Regions from separate parts of the Homo sapiens genome. Here region 1 is linked to region 2. Evidence: promoter capture Hi-C in human tissues and cell types (Jung and others, 2019). All regions are on one chromosome and are shown on one strand. Each heading gives the region's core, a stretch centred on a gene start or on the middle of the fragment in contact. The rest is flanking DNA. Distances are from core to core; before and after follow the strand shown.

Region 1 (5,867 bases), core at 2,903-5,402, 650 kb after region 2:
GGGTTTATTTATTGTCCCAAATTGTAGCTCCAGACCCATACATTTCCACTGAGCAGCTCCATTTGGATTTTCCATAAGCACTTCCAACTTAATGTGTTCAAACCTCCTCTTTTATCTAAACCTGGATTCTCTGCTGCCTCTTATTTGAGCTCAAAATGCCACCAGCTTCCCAAGCATCCAAGTTAGAACCCTAGTAAGTCATTCTCAATGCCTTCTCTCACATGCCATCGTCAACAGTCTTTCATCTCCTGGCTCACCCCTATTTGATTTGCAGGATCCGGCTCAAATGTCACCTCATCTTCAGTGCCAGGTTCTTAGTCTTTCTCTCTCCTTCTCCTCCTGAACCATTTTTATGTGTCTCCTTAGCACCCTTACTGTATTTTCCTGTAATTGCATTTACATGTCAGTCTTTGCTACTAATGGTAAAGAATTCAAGGGCAGAGGCGTGTATCTTGTTCATTTTACAATCTTCATGACTTAGTGCCAAAGATTAAGTGTTGATGAGATGAATTGCTTCTAAGGGAAAAATAAGTGCATTCTGAGTTCTTCCGTACTTGCTGTAGGAGTAGGGTGTATTCTTCAGCTGAATACACATTGCCTGGAACTGAGCAGCAGAATTCTTCATTTCCTAAGTGACAGACCATGCAAGAAGAACTAGGTGGTTGGATTTCCCAGCTATAATCCATTCTCCTCTCTCCCCATTACCTCCACATTTTCTATAAATATTTTAAGATGGAAAGTGACAGTTCTCTCCGAGGTGTATAAAGGACGTGTTTTTCTTTTCCCCTTCTCTTAGGGTTAAGCAACATCATTGGCATCATAGTTTATATATCAGCCAACGCCGGAGACCCCGGGCAGCGTGACTCCAAAAAAAGTTACTCCTATGGTTGGTCCTTTTATTTCGGAGCCTTCTCTTTCATCATCGCAGAAATTGTAGGAGTGGTTGCCGTGCACATCTATATTGAAAAACATCAGCAGTTACGAGCCAAATCCCACTCGGAGTTCCTGAAGAAATCTACTTTTGCCCGCCTCCCACCCTACAGGTATCGATTCCGGAGGCGGTCAAGTTCTCGCTCCACCGAGCCCAGATCCCGAGACCTGTCCCCCATCAGCAAAGGCTTCCACACCATCCCTTCCACTGACATCTCGATGTTCACCCTCTCCCGGGACCCCTCAAAGATCACCATGGGGACCCTCCTCAACTCCGACCGGGACCACGCTTTTCTACAGTTCCACAATTCCACACCCAAAGAGTTCAAAGAGTCACTGCATAATAATCCGGCCAACAGGCGCACCACGCCCGTCTGAACTGACCTCTGACCTCTGCCCCACGCCCAGCACAGCCTTGGGGGAAGTGTACAGAGATGTCTCTGAGGTTGCATGGCATGGTCCTTGTGATGGTATTACTTTTTACAAAGAATGAAACCAAATGGACTCAGCCCTCTCCCACATTTTCCCCTCACCCTCCAAGTCCTAACCCCTCCATCCTCTCTAACTTTTCAAGCCAATCCCTTAATGTCATTCCTCTCTCTGTGTATCTGTGCCAGATGTTTTCCTTTCTTCCTTCTTTACTGGAAGGACCTCCACATTCTTCCCTCCTTGGAAGAGGACTTTACTAAAAGTCACAGGTGGTGGCCAGGGGGGATTTCCGAATCTCCATCAGGCGCGCTCATAGTTGTCCCCATTGTCTACCCACACAAATCCTCAGGAAACCAACCACCGCCCAGGTGGCCCTGAGGGAGGCATTCACCTTTATGTGTTAGAAAAACATGACCAGAAATCAAAGATGTCAGAGCCCCGAAGCAGCTAATGTAATAAGCACTCATGTTATTAAAGGTTTTGCCTTGTCGTAACCAACCGAGCCGGGGGTGTTTTGTTTCTTGTGGGTGTTTCCTACACAAACTCACTCCCCTGCCTCCAAACTGGCTCATGTCCATCTTGGAAGCTGAACTTTGCTCATCCACACTTGAGCCACTAGGAAGGATCTCCCTGCACCTTTGGAAGCTAGTAAGGCATTCCCACAAATGTCCAAATCAATGCATCCTTCTACTTGAATTCCTGGAGGCTACCTGGGGGTGGGTGAGTGAATGCTGGTTTTCAAGATCTAACTTTGGCATGCAATAGCTCTAGAACCTTGGGCAAGTCACCTAAGCCTCAAGCCTCAGTCTCCTCATCTGTAAAATGGAACATGATAATAGCACTCTCCTCCACAGAGTTATGAGGTTTAAATAAAACTGTGTGTAAAATGATTAGCACATTGTAAACAATTGATATATATTTTTCAATGTTTCAGGTGGATTTTAGGCAGAGTAAGCATTATGTTGATCTGCTTTTGCTGTGACAACAAAATATCAAAATGGGCCAGGAGAGGCGGCATGAGCTTGTAGTCCCAGCTCATGGAACTACAGACTTGGAGGCTGAAGCGGGAGGATCACTTGAGCCCAGGAGTTAAAGAGTTCAAGTCTAGCTGAGACCCCAGCTCTTAAAAATAAAAAAATCAAAGACTGGTTAAACAACAGACATTTATTTCTCAAAGTTCTGGAGGCTAAGGAGTCTAAGATTAAAATGTCAGTAATTCAGTTTCTGCTCAGGGCTCCTCTTCCTGACTTGTAAACAGCAGCCTTCTTGTTGTGTTCTCACATGATAGAAAGAAAGTAATCTCTTTCTCTCTCTCTCTCTCTCAATTTCTCTTTTCATAAAGCCACAGATCCCACAGTGAGGGTCCCACCGGTCCCACCCCCATGATCTCATCTAACCCTAATTATCTCTCAAAGATCCTATCTCCAAATATCATCACACTGGGGATTAGGGATTCAACATATGCATTTTGGGGGAATGGGAAGGTGGATGGAGACACAGTTCAGTCCACAGCAAGGGTTACTTTAGCAAGATAAAAGCCAAATGGAAGTTACTTTATATAAGGGAGAGAGAGAGAGTATACTTTGCACAGGCTCTGAGGGCTCTGGGAAGAGAGAATGGAAGGATTTGAATATTTTAAATATTTGATGTTGGAAAGCATGAGAAATATGTTGGCCAGGCATGGTGGCTGACTTCTGTAATCCCAACACTTTGGGAGGCCAATGTAGTTTGAGACAAATGTAGTTTGAGACCAGCCTGGGCAACACAATGAAACCCTGGCTCTACAAAAAAATACAAAAATTAGGTGAGCATGGTGGCACATGCCTGTAGTCCCAGCTACTTGAGAGGCTGAGATGGGAGGATCACCTGAACTCAGGGAGGTGGAGGCTGCAGTGAGCCGTGATCATGCCACTGCACTCCAACCTGGGTGACAGAGTGAGACCCTGTCTGAAAAAAGAAAAGAAAAAAGTATGAGAAATATGTCACCTATGCCCACAGTGACTTCCTTGAGCATTTTTGGCACACACCCAGGTCTTCGCACTTCTGAGGAGCCTTCCCACTTAGGGCCGCAGCATGCTAGGAGGCAGGGTTGCAGGCTTGAGAGCTCACACTTAGCTGATACTGTGGGTACCAGGCTGTGTTCTGCTGCCATACACACACAAAATCATTTCATCCTTCCAGTAATCCCATGAAGAAAATACCTCCCAAAATCTCCACTTTACCAATGAGGAAACTGAGGAAAGAGAAGTACCATGACTTGCCCAAATTGTATTCCCACTATGGGACAGAAGTACTGGGAAACTAGTACCTTGCCCACACTCACACAGTAAATTTCATTGTAAAGTGCACCTAGGGACAATTCATTTTGTTCAACACTTGAGTCATTGCATGCAAATGACACGCACATACATTAAATTATCTCATTTAGTCCTCCAAAGAACCACGTGTAGTAGGAATTATCATCTCCATTTTGGCAGGTAAGGAAATAGAGGCTCAAAGAAAGTAAGCGTCTTGGGTGCTAATGAGCAGAGCGACATTTGTATCTAAGCCTCTGCTTCCTACGTTGCGTGGCTTCCCCAGTATTCCAGCATTTTCCAAGCTCAGTCATTTGAGCGCCACTCCTAGGAAGTTTTTTATAGCCACATCCCACATCAACAACTATTTACCTAATGTCTTTCTTCAAGCCTACTTGCTTTTAATCCTTTAATAAATATATTTCGAAAAGGAATTTTATAACACTACTATAAAGAGAAAACTGAAATTCCTTGCCATAATCAAATGGTAACTGGGAAAATAAATACAATACAAACGAAAACAATCATGCTATACTTTAGCTGTTGCTAGCTTAGCTCACTGCAACCTCCACCTCCCTGAGTTCAGCTGAAGGCCGGCTGCCGGCTGCCTGTTCTTTGTGAAAAGGATATAACCGAAGTGTTAGAGAGGTGTTAAAGGATATTCTGGCACCAAAAGAAGATGCTTCCCTTGGTTTACTCAGAAGGAGCAAAGGAGAAGTCAAAAGGGAATACCCTTCTCACTGTGTGATTTGACGCTCTGTGATACTGCGGCCATGCACCATATCAAATCATCTACTCTTTTTATTATGGAAGTTTACAGAGCACTTTATTTTTTTAATTTTTTTTTTAAAGATGAAGGATGAGGTAGATTTTATTTTGAAGCATGTGAAAAATATTTGGGAATGGTAACTCAGGTAATTTTTTTTTATTATTATTTTACTTTAAGTTCTGGATACAAGGGCAGAACTTGTAGGTTTGTTACCTAGGTATACATGTTGCATGGTGGTTTGCTGCACCTAGCAACCCGTCATCTAGGTTTTAAGCCCTGAATGCATTAACTATTTGAAACTGTGGAATGCTTCACGAATTTGCATGTCATCTTTGCTCAGGGGCCATGCATCTCCTCCTACTCTTGGGGACAAGTGGTCCAGCCACCCTTGGAGAGGGAAGGATCTGAGAACTGGAGCAAATATGTGAAGAACACTGTGAAGGGGAAGCAGCAGCATCCAGGCACCCTGGGAACTGGGAGTGTGCAAAAACAGGGCATCGGGGAAGTGGATCTGGGATGGAGAGAAAGGCCCCAGCGCCTTAACTAGCGGGGTATCAGCCCTGGTAGTCAAGAATAAAGTCCTTCTGCAAAGGCCAGAGTGCTAGAGGAGAGAAATGGCCACGTGACCCCCGGAAGGACTCCCTCTGTACCCCACATGCCTCCCCACCGCACCATCTAGGTTTGCTCCCTGAAAAGCTTTGGCACAGGAGCCTCGGGATACCTTTGCTTGACAGCTGCTCAGTTGAACCCCGCTGGCTGGCATCAGATAGATATTAATATTACCACTTCTGGGTTGCAGCCAGGATTCAGGCCTATCCTTGCCATCCAAATCCACTGGAAGATTATTTCCATTCACTAAGCCGCCACCCTCTGTGTCAGACACTGTGCCATGAACTTCACTCATCTTGTCTCATTGAATTCTCATATTTGTGGCAGGTATGATTGTTAAATCCATTGTGAAGATGGTGAAACTTACAAGTAGACAGCAAAGTCGATACACAAACCCACGTCTGCCTGACTTGAAAGCCCATGCAGCAGCCCCTCACTAAGCATTCCTGGCCATGCTGCTTGAATCTCTTGCTCCATTGCTGAGTTCTCCATCTCCTTCTCCCTCAAATGCAGCTCCCTTTCCCAGCTGCATTTGAGGGACCAAATTTCTGGACCAGCAGATCCCTCCACCAATCTCAGGACCAGAACCCTTGAGTTTCTCTTTGCTGCTGCTTTAATGTGTAGTCCCTGGAACTGAGTTTTTGCCAAGTTATGCCTCTACCTTTTGAGAACAGAGAGGCAGCTTGCACAACATTCAAGCATGGAAACTCTGCAACTGGATCTGGACAGTTGCGGAGTTTGATTCCTTTGACTTTGAATCCAATGACTTTGAATCCCAGCTCTGTATTTATCAACCACAGACCTTTGACAAGATCGTCACCCTCTGTCTCAGCTTC
Region 2 (5,775 bases), core at 1,094-3,593:
CCCAAGGAGGGAGGAGGGACCACCTCTTGCTCACCATCCCTCAGAGTCCACTTCAGGTCCCCTGTCTGCTTGCTTAGTGCGTGGAGACTTCCATCCAAGGTGGACACCAGCAGGAGGTTCTCTGGCCTGAGAGTATGAACCTGCAAGGGGGTAGAGACAAAGTCAGCTCTCTGAGGGGTCTGGGACCACCCTTTGCTCCTGTCCCAAGCAGGGCTGGCCATGACTCCCCTTCCCCCAGATGGGGATGCAGCAGGGGAGGAAGGGTGATTGGGGAACGTGCTGGTGTCACTCATCATCTCTTTGACCCTAGAGAAGGGTTATAGTGGAAGCTGGGGGGTTCTGAGGGGAGGTTTTGGCTCCCAATGTATCTAAATTCCCAATTACTTACCTCCTTCCTCAATTCATTCTGGTTTTCCAAAGAAGACTAAAGGCCTTTACAAAATGACTTCATTGTTTGTTTTGTTTCTTTTTGTTATTGTTCTTGTTGTTTTAATATAAGACAGGGTCTTGCTCTATTGCCCAGGCTGGAATGAAGTGGCATAGTCATAGCTCACTGTGGCCTCAAACCCCTGGGCTCAGCTGATCCTCACACCTCAGCCTCCCAAGTAGTTGGGACTACGGGTGTCTGTCATCACACCTGGCTAATTTTTGTATTTTTTTGTAGAGATGGGGTCTTGCTATGTTGTCTAGGCTGGTCTGGAACTCCTGGCCTCAAGCGATCCTCCTGCCTCAGCCTCCCAAAGTATTGGGATTACAAGCATGAGCCACTGCACCCATTCTAAGACTGGTATTATTAGTTTTCCCATTCTACAGAGGAGGGAGACTGAGGCTCAGGAAAGTTAGGTCATTGGTTAGGTCATTGGCATAAAGCCACAGAGATAATAAGTGGCAAAACTAAGGACTTGAGTTGCCATCCCTCTGATTCCTATGCCTGGCCTCTTTTTCCTCTGCCACAATGTCTACCTCTTTTGGGATGCCCCTTTCTGCCTCCCCAAACCAGCCCAGCTGGTTTTGGTGCCAGGCTCCAGTGGGTCCCTTGACCCAAGGCTGGGGGGTGCCCTTGGGAGGGGGGCTGGAGCCACCCGTACTTACATCTGGCGATCCTGGGCTCACTCACCTGCTCCAGTCCCTCCTTGAGCAAACAGGGTGAGGCTGAGCTCCCAGCAGGAGGCCTAACATCCGGGTGGCCCAGCCGCACCCCTACAAAGGCCACATCCTGCTTCAGGACCCTCAGGTTTGGGGCTGGGCCACTGGTGTTGAGTGGAGGGTCAGGAAATTATCTGCTAGCCCCTCTTTCTTTCTGGGCTTCAATTTTGTCATCTGCAGCATGGCAGGAGGGAGAACGGTTTGGAGAAGAGGCTGCAGATTGGTTGCCCAGAAATGAATTTTGTTTGACCATCTAGTGCTTAAAAATTTTTCAATTAGCTGCCAATTTTTTTAAAAATTGGATGATTTCTACAAAAAAACCAAGATTTCAAATCTTTCTCATTTCTAATTTTTCCAGAGACATCCGATCTGGCCACACTGGGCTTGCATTCTTAGCTGGCAACCATGAGGTGGACCCATGAGGTGGAAGCCGGGAATGAGAGGTGCCTAACTCTACCTGATCGCTTTTGCCCCATGGGGGTTCTAGGCGGGACACCTGGATTCTTAGGCCAGGCGACTTTTGCCTCCTGGCTGCATTTCTGTAAGACTCTGCTATTCCTGGCACCGTGGGAGCAGATACTGACACTCCCAGCTCATTTATCCCATAGGTTCTGAACCTGGGGTGCAGCCATGGGTAAGGGGACCGTATTGTAAAGCCTCTGAAATTGCAAAACTGGGCGTGCAGGCTCATTTCTCAGCAGAGGGCCCTGAAGTCAATCATATTTTCAAAGGAAGCCAGGATTCCCAGAAGTTTTAAGAGGCCTGGCTTTCGTGCCCAGGTGCCCCCCTACCCCAGACTACACCTCTCCCTGCTGAAGAGGCGGGGTGCTCTGTCTACTCTTGCCTTTCCACGCTGGCAGATCTCCCCAGCTAGGTATTTGTTGGGGGCAACTGGCGGCTCCCCAAACCCAGGAGGCTTTTACTCCGTTGGGGCCGAGTTGGGACCACCCAGGCGTGAGGGAGGGAGAGGTGCCCCCGTGGCCCCGCCGCGCCCTCGCCCCAAGTGCGACGCCGCCCCCTGCGCCCCGCGACCAGACTTTGGGGACTTGGCGTCGGTCCCTGGCTCTCACCTGTGGACTCAGCGTCCCGAGCAGCAGCGCCGCGAACTGGAGCTGGAGCCCCAGCCGGGGCCACGGCCTCGACCCCCTGACCGCACTCGCCATAGCGCCTGGGCAGCTGCACGGCTGGCCAGGTCCCTGGGTGCCTCCAAGGGAGCGCTCTGTCCCCGCCCGACCCGGAGAAGGCTCCGCCCCTGGCTGGGCCTGCAACCCCAGCCTGGAGTCCTCGCCGATCCCCGCCCTTCTCATCACACTCCCAGCCGCATCCTCGCGTCCCAGTCACCCCACCAAACACGGTGGGGCGCTTTCCCGGGAGAGGGATTTTACTGAGCCCACTTATGGAGAACTTGCCACGTGCCGAGGACCGTGCCGGTTCATCATCAGTTCCTGGAGTCCTCACTGCACAGCAGGTACAAGCGGAGGCTGAGAGCCGCAGTCCCAATACAGATCCGCCTGATCTCAAAGCCTGCGCTCTTTATCATTGCACCAGCGGATCCCGGTGGGCTATCAGGAAATAGCGATTAATTGGTGAATTCAGTCGTTCGTTCAATAAATATTTATTATGGGTCAGGTAAGTGGCTCACCTCTGTAATCCCAGCACTTTGGGAGGCCTAGGAGGGAGGATCACTTGAAACCAGGAGTTGGAGACCAGCAACATAGTGAGACCCCATCTCTACAAAAAAAAATGGCCAGGTGTGGTGATGTCCACCTGTAGTTCCAGCTACTCGCGAGGCTGAGGTGGGAGGATTGCTTGAGCCAGGAAGTCAAGGCTGCAGTGAGCTATAACTGTGCCATTGCACTCCAGCCTGGGCGACAGAGAGAGACACACTCTCCAAAAATAAAATAAATAAATAAATATGCATGTATTTATTTTTTGAGACAGAGTCGATCTTGTCACCCAGGCTGGAGTGCAATGGCACTATCTTGGCTAACTGCAACCTTTGCATCCTGGGTCCAAGCAATCCTCCTCCCGAGTAGCTGGGATTAAAAATGTGGGCCAACATGCCCAGCTAATTTCTGTATTTTTAGTAGAGATGGGGCTTCACCACTTTGGCCAGGCTGGTCTCAAACTCCTGACCTCAGTTGATCCGCTCACCTCGTCCTCCCAAAGTGCTGGGATTACAGGCATAAGCCACCGCGCCCAGCCAATAAATATGCATTTATTATAAGCTATGACATGCCTGCCTGATGAACAAGATGATGAGGTCCCTGTCTTCGTAGAGCTTAGAGATTCCTATGCCTTAGATGTAAGACAACTCCGCATGGAAGGGCACCTTCTAATGGCCGTGACCACCCTTGCTCCTGGTAGATGTCTCCAGTTTTGTTCAGAGAGGGTCTGCCAGGGTCCTTGAAGGTAAGGTCCACCCTGTTTGCAAGTTTCAACTCATTCATGTCTCCTTCATCCTTGTGTAAAAATAAAAAAAAAAAAATCCCTGCTGATTTGAGGGTCATGCAGCCCAGCTCTGCCACCTTCTCCCCGTCCTCTTTGTCATCCTTGGCCCTCCTGGTCATCCCCTCACAGTTACTGAAAACTTGGTAGCTTGGCCCCTAGCCTTCATCTCCATCACAAATCCTGCCACTCTCCTTGGTGTCTTCAATGTCCAAGGTACAGCTTAGCCAGCATTGCAGCCTCTCAGTGGGTGTACCTCTTTGGAGACCTTATCCCCCACGCCACAACTGCACTGGGCCCTTGTCACACTCAGAACCACTTTAGTTCCAATGTCCCTTTCTCTGATTGCAGCCTCCTCTCCATGCAACGGTTTCACCCTTTCATTCTCCTTATCCCTGTGCCCTGACCTACACGGTACCTTCATCCCTCAGTCTCTCTTCCACTCTGTCAGCCCCTTCCTTGTCCTTATCCTGCTTGGACCTCCTAGCTGACCATCTGAAGGAACTACACCACTGTCTTAGGCTGGGTTGAAACAGGTTGGGATTTTTGTGAAAGTTATTTCACACTAAGCCATACCAGGTTCAGAAGTTCAAGAGCAGCCTGGGCAACATAGCAAGACCTCAGTCTCTACAAAAAATAAAAAATAAGCCAGGCACGCTGGTGTGCACTAGTAGCCCCAGCTACTTGGGAGGCTGAGGTAGGAGGATCCCTTGATTCCAGGAGATCCAGGCTGCAGGTAGCACCACTGCTCTCCAGCCTGGGCAACAGAGTGAGACCCTGTCTCTAAAAAACAAAACAGGCTGGGCGCGGTGGCTCATGCATGTAATCTCAGCACTTTGGGAGGTCGAGGTGGGTGGATCACCTGAGGTCAGCAGTTTGAGACCAGCCTGGCCAACATGGTGAAACCCTGTCTCTACTAAAAATACCAAAATTAGCCGGGCGTGATGGCGCATGCCTGTAATTCCAGCTACTTGGGAGACTGAGGCAGGAGAATTGCTTGAACCCAGGAGGTGGAGGCTGCCGTGAGCCATGATCGTGCCATTGCACTCCAGCCTGGGCAACAGAGTGAGACTTTGTCTCAAAATAAATAAATAAATAAAAAACAAGACAAAACAAAACAAAAACAAAGAAATATGTACATTATGAAGTCTTTAGTTTACTTGGTTGCTCTTTCATGCTTAGCTGTTCCAACACCCCTAAATTGGCCCAGTACTCCTAACTTTATAACAAAAGTGATTGTTTGCCATTGTAGAACCTAACCCAAGCTATTGAGTGTGTGAATGAACCCTCCTTTCTGCTCTATATTTTGTACACTCTGCATTGTTTTGAAATGTACATTGTGTTTACTATGCTTGGATTCAGGCATTTCTCATGCAAAAAATTTGACTTGCATAAAATACAAACTGCAAATGAACTGGAATAAATTGTGTGTGTGTGTGTGTGTGTGTGTAATGATAAAAGCAATATACATTCTAGAAACTTTGTAAAATTCAGAAAAATTTAAATAAGAAAATATCTGGACAGGTGTGGTGGCTCACACCTGTAGTCCCAGCTACTCAGGAGGCTGAGGTGGGAGGATCACTTGAGCCTAGGAGCTGGAGGCTGCAGTTAGCTGTGACTGCACCACTGCACTCCAGCCTGGGCTAAAGAGCAAGACACTATCTCAAAAATATTAATAATAATCAGCTGGGTGCAGGGGCTCATCCTGTAATCTCAGCACTTTGGGAGGCTGAGGTGGGTGAATCACTTGAGGTCAGGAGTTCAAGACCAGCCTGGCCAACATGGTGAAACCCTGTCTCTACTAAAAATACAAACATTAGCAGGGCGTAGTGGCACATGCCTGTAATCCCAGCTACACAGGAGGCTGAGGCAGGAGAATTGCTTGAACTCGGGAGGCAGAGGTTGCAGTGAGCCAAGATCACGCCATTGCACTCCAGCCTGGGAGACAGATCAACACTCCAACTCAAAAATAAAAATAAAAAAAATAAAAAATAAATAAATAAAATTTTTTTAAAAAGTTCATTCATGGGTCCACCGTTTGAAAACAGCACCCCGTTAACATTCTGTCCTACTTCCGCCAATGGTTTCTTCTCCCTGTGCCTGTATGTATGATGGGATCCTATGTTCAAATATTTACATGTTTTTTCCACTCCAGAGTTTCCTTTTCCCCAACAGTCCTTC

The links. Contacts are between HindIII fragments. The study calls those that stand out against the background at their distance.
Region 1: a fragment that was not itself captured here is called in contact with the fragment with the promoter of ERN2 in region 2 in 2 of the 25 tissues and cell types used here (H1 embryonic stem cells and lymphoblastoid cells).

Annotation. Positions count from the first base shown.
Region 1 is chr16:24,360,556-24,366,422 of GRCh38, forward strand. It overlaps CACNG3 (calcium voltage-gated channel auxiliary subunit gamma 3), which reads left to right. Exons shown (of 4, transcript NM_006539.4): 4 at 797-1,857. The coding sequence ends at 1,308. Among named protein-coding and RNA genes, the nearest start is that of CACNG3, 110 kb to the left of the region's middle. The HindIII fragment of the contact is 3,769 bases long and covers 2,269-5,867 here.
Region 2 is chr16:23,710,879-23,716,653 of GRCh38, forward strand. It overlaps ERN2 (endoplasmic reticulum to nucleus signaling 2), which reads right to left and starts at 2,344. Exons shown (of 22, transcript NM_033266.4): 1 at 2,217-2,344; 2 at 35-140. The coding sequence starts at 2,309. The HindIII fragment of the contact is 19,919 bases long and covers 1-5,775 here.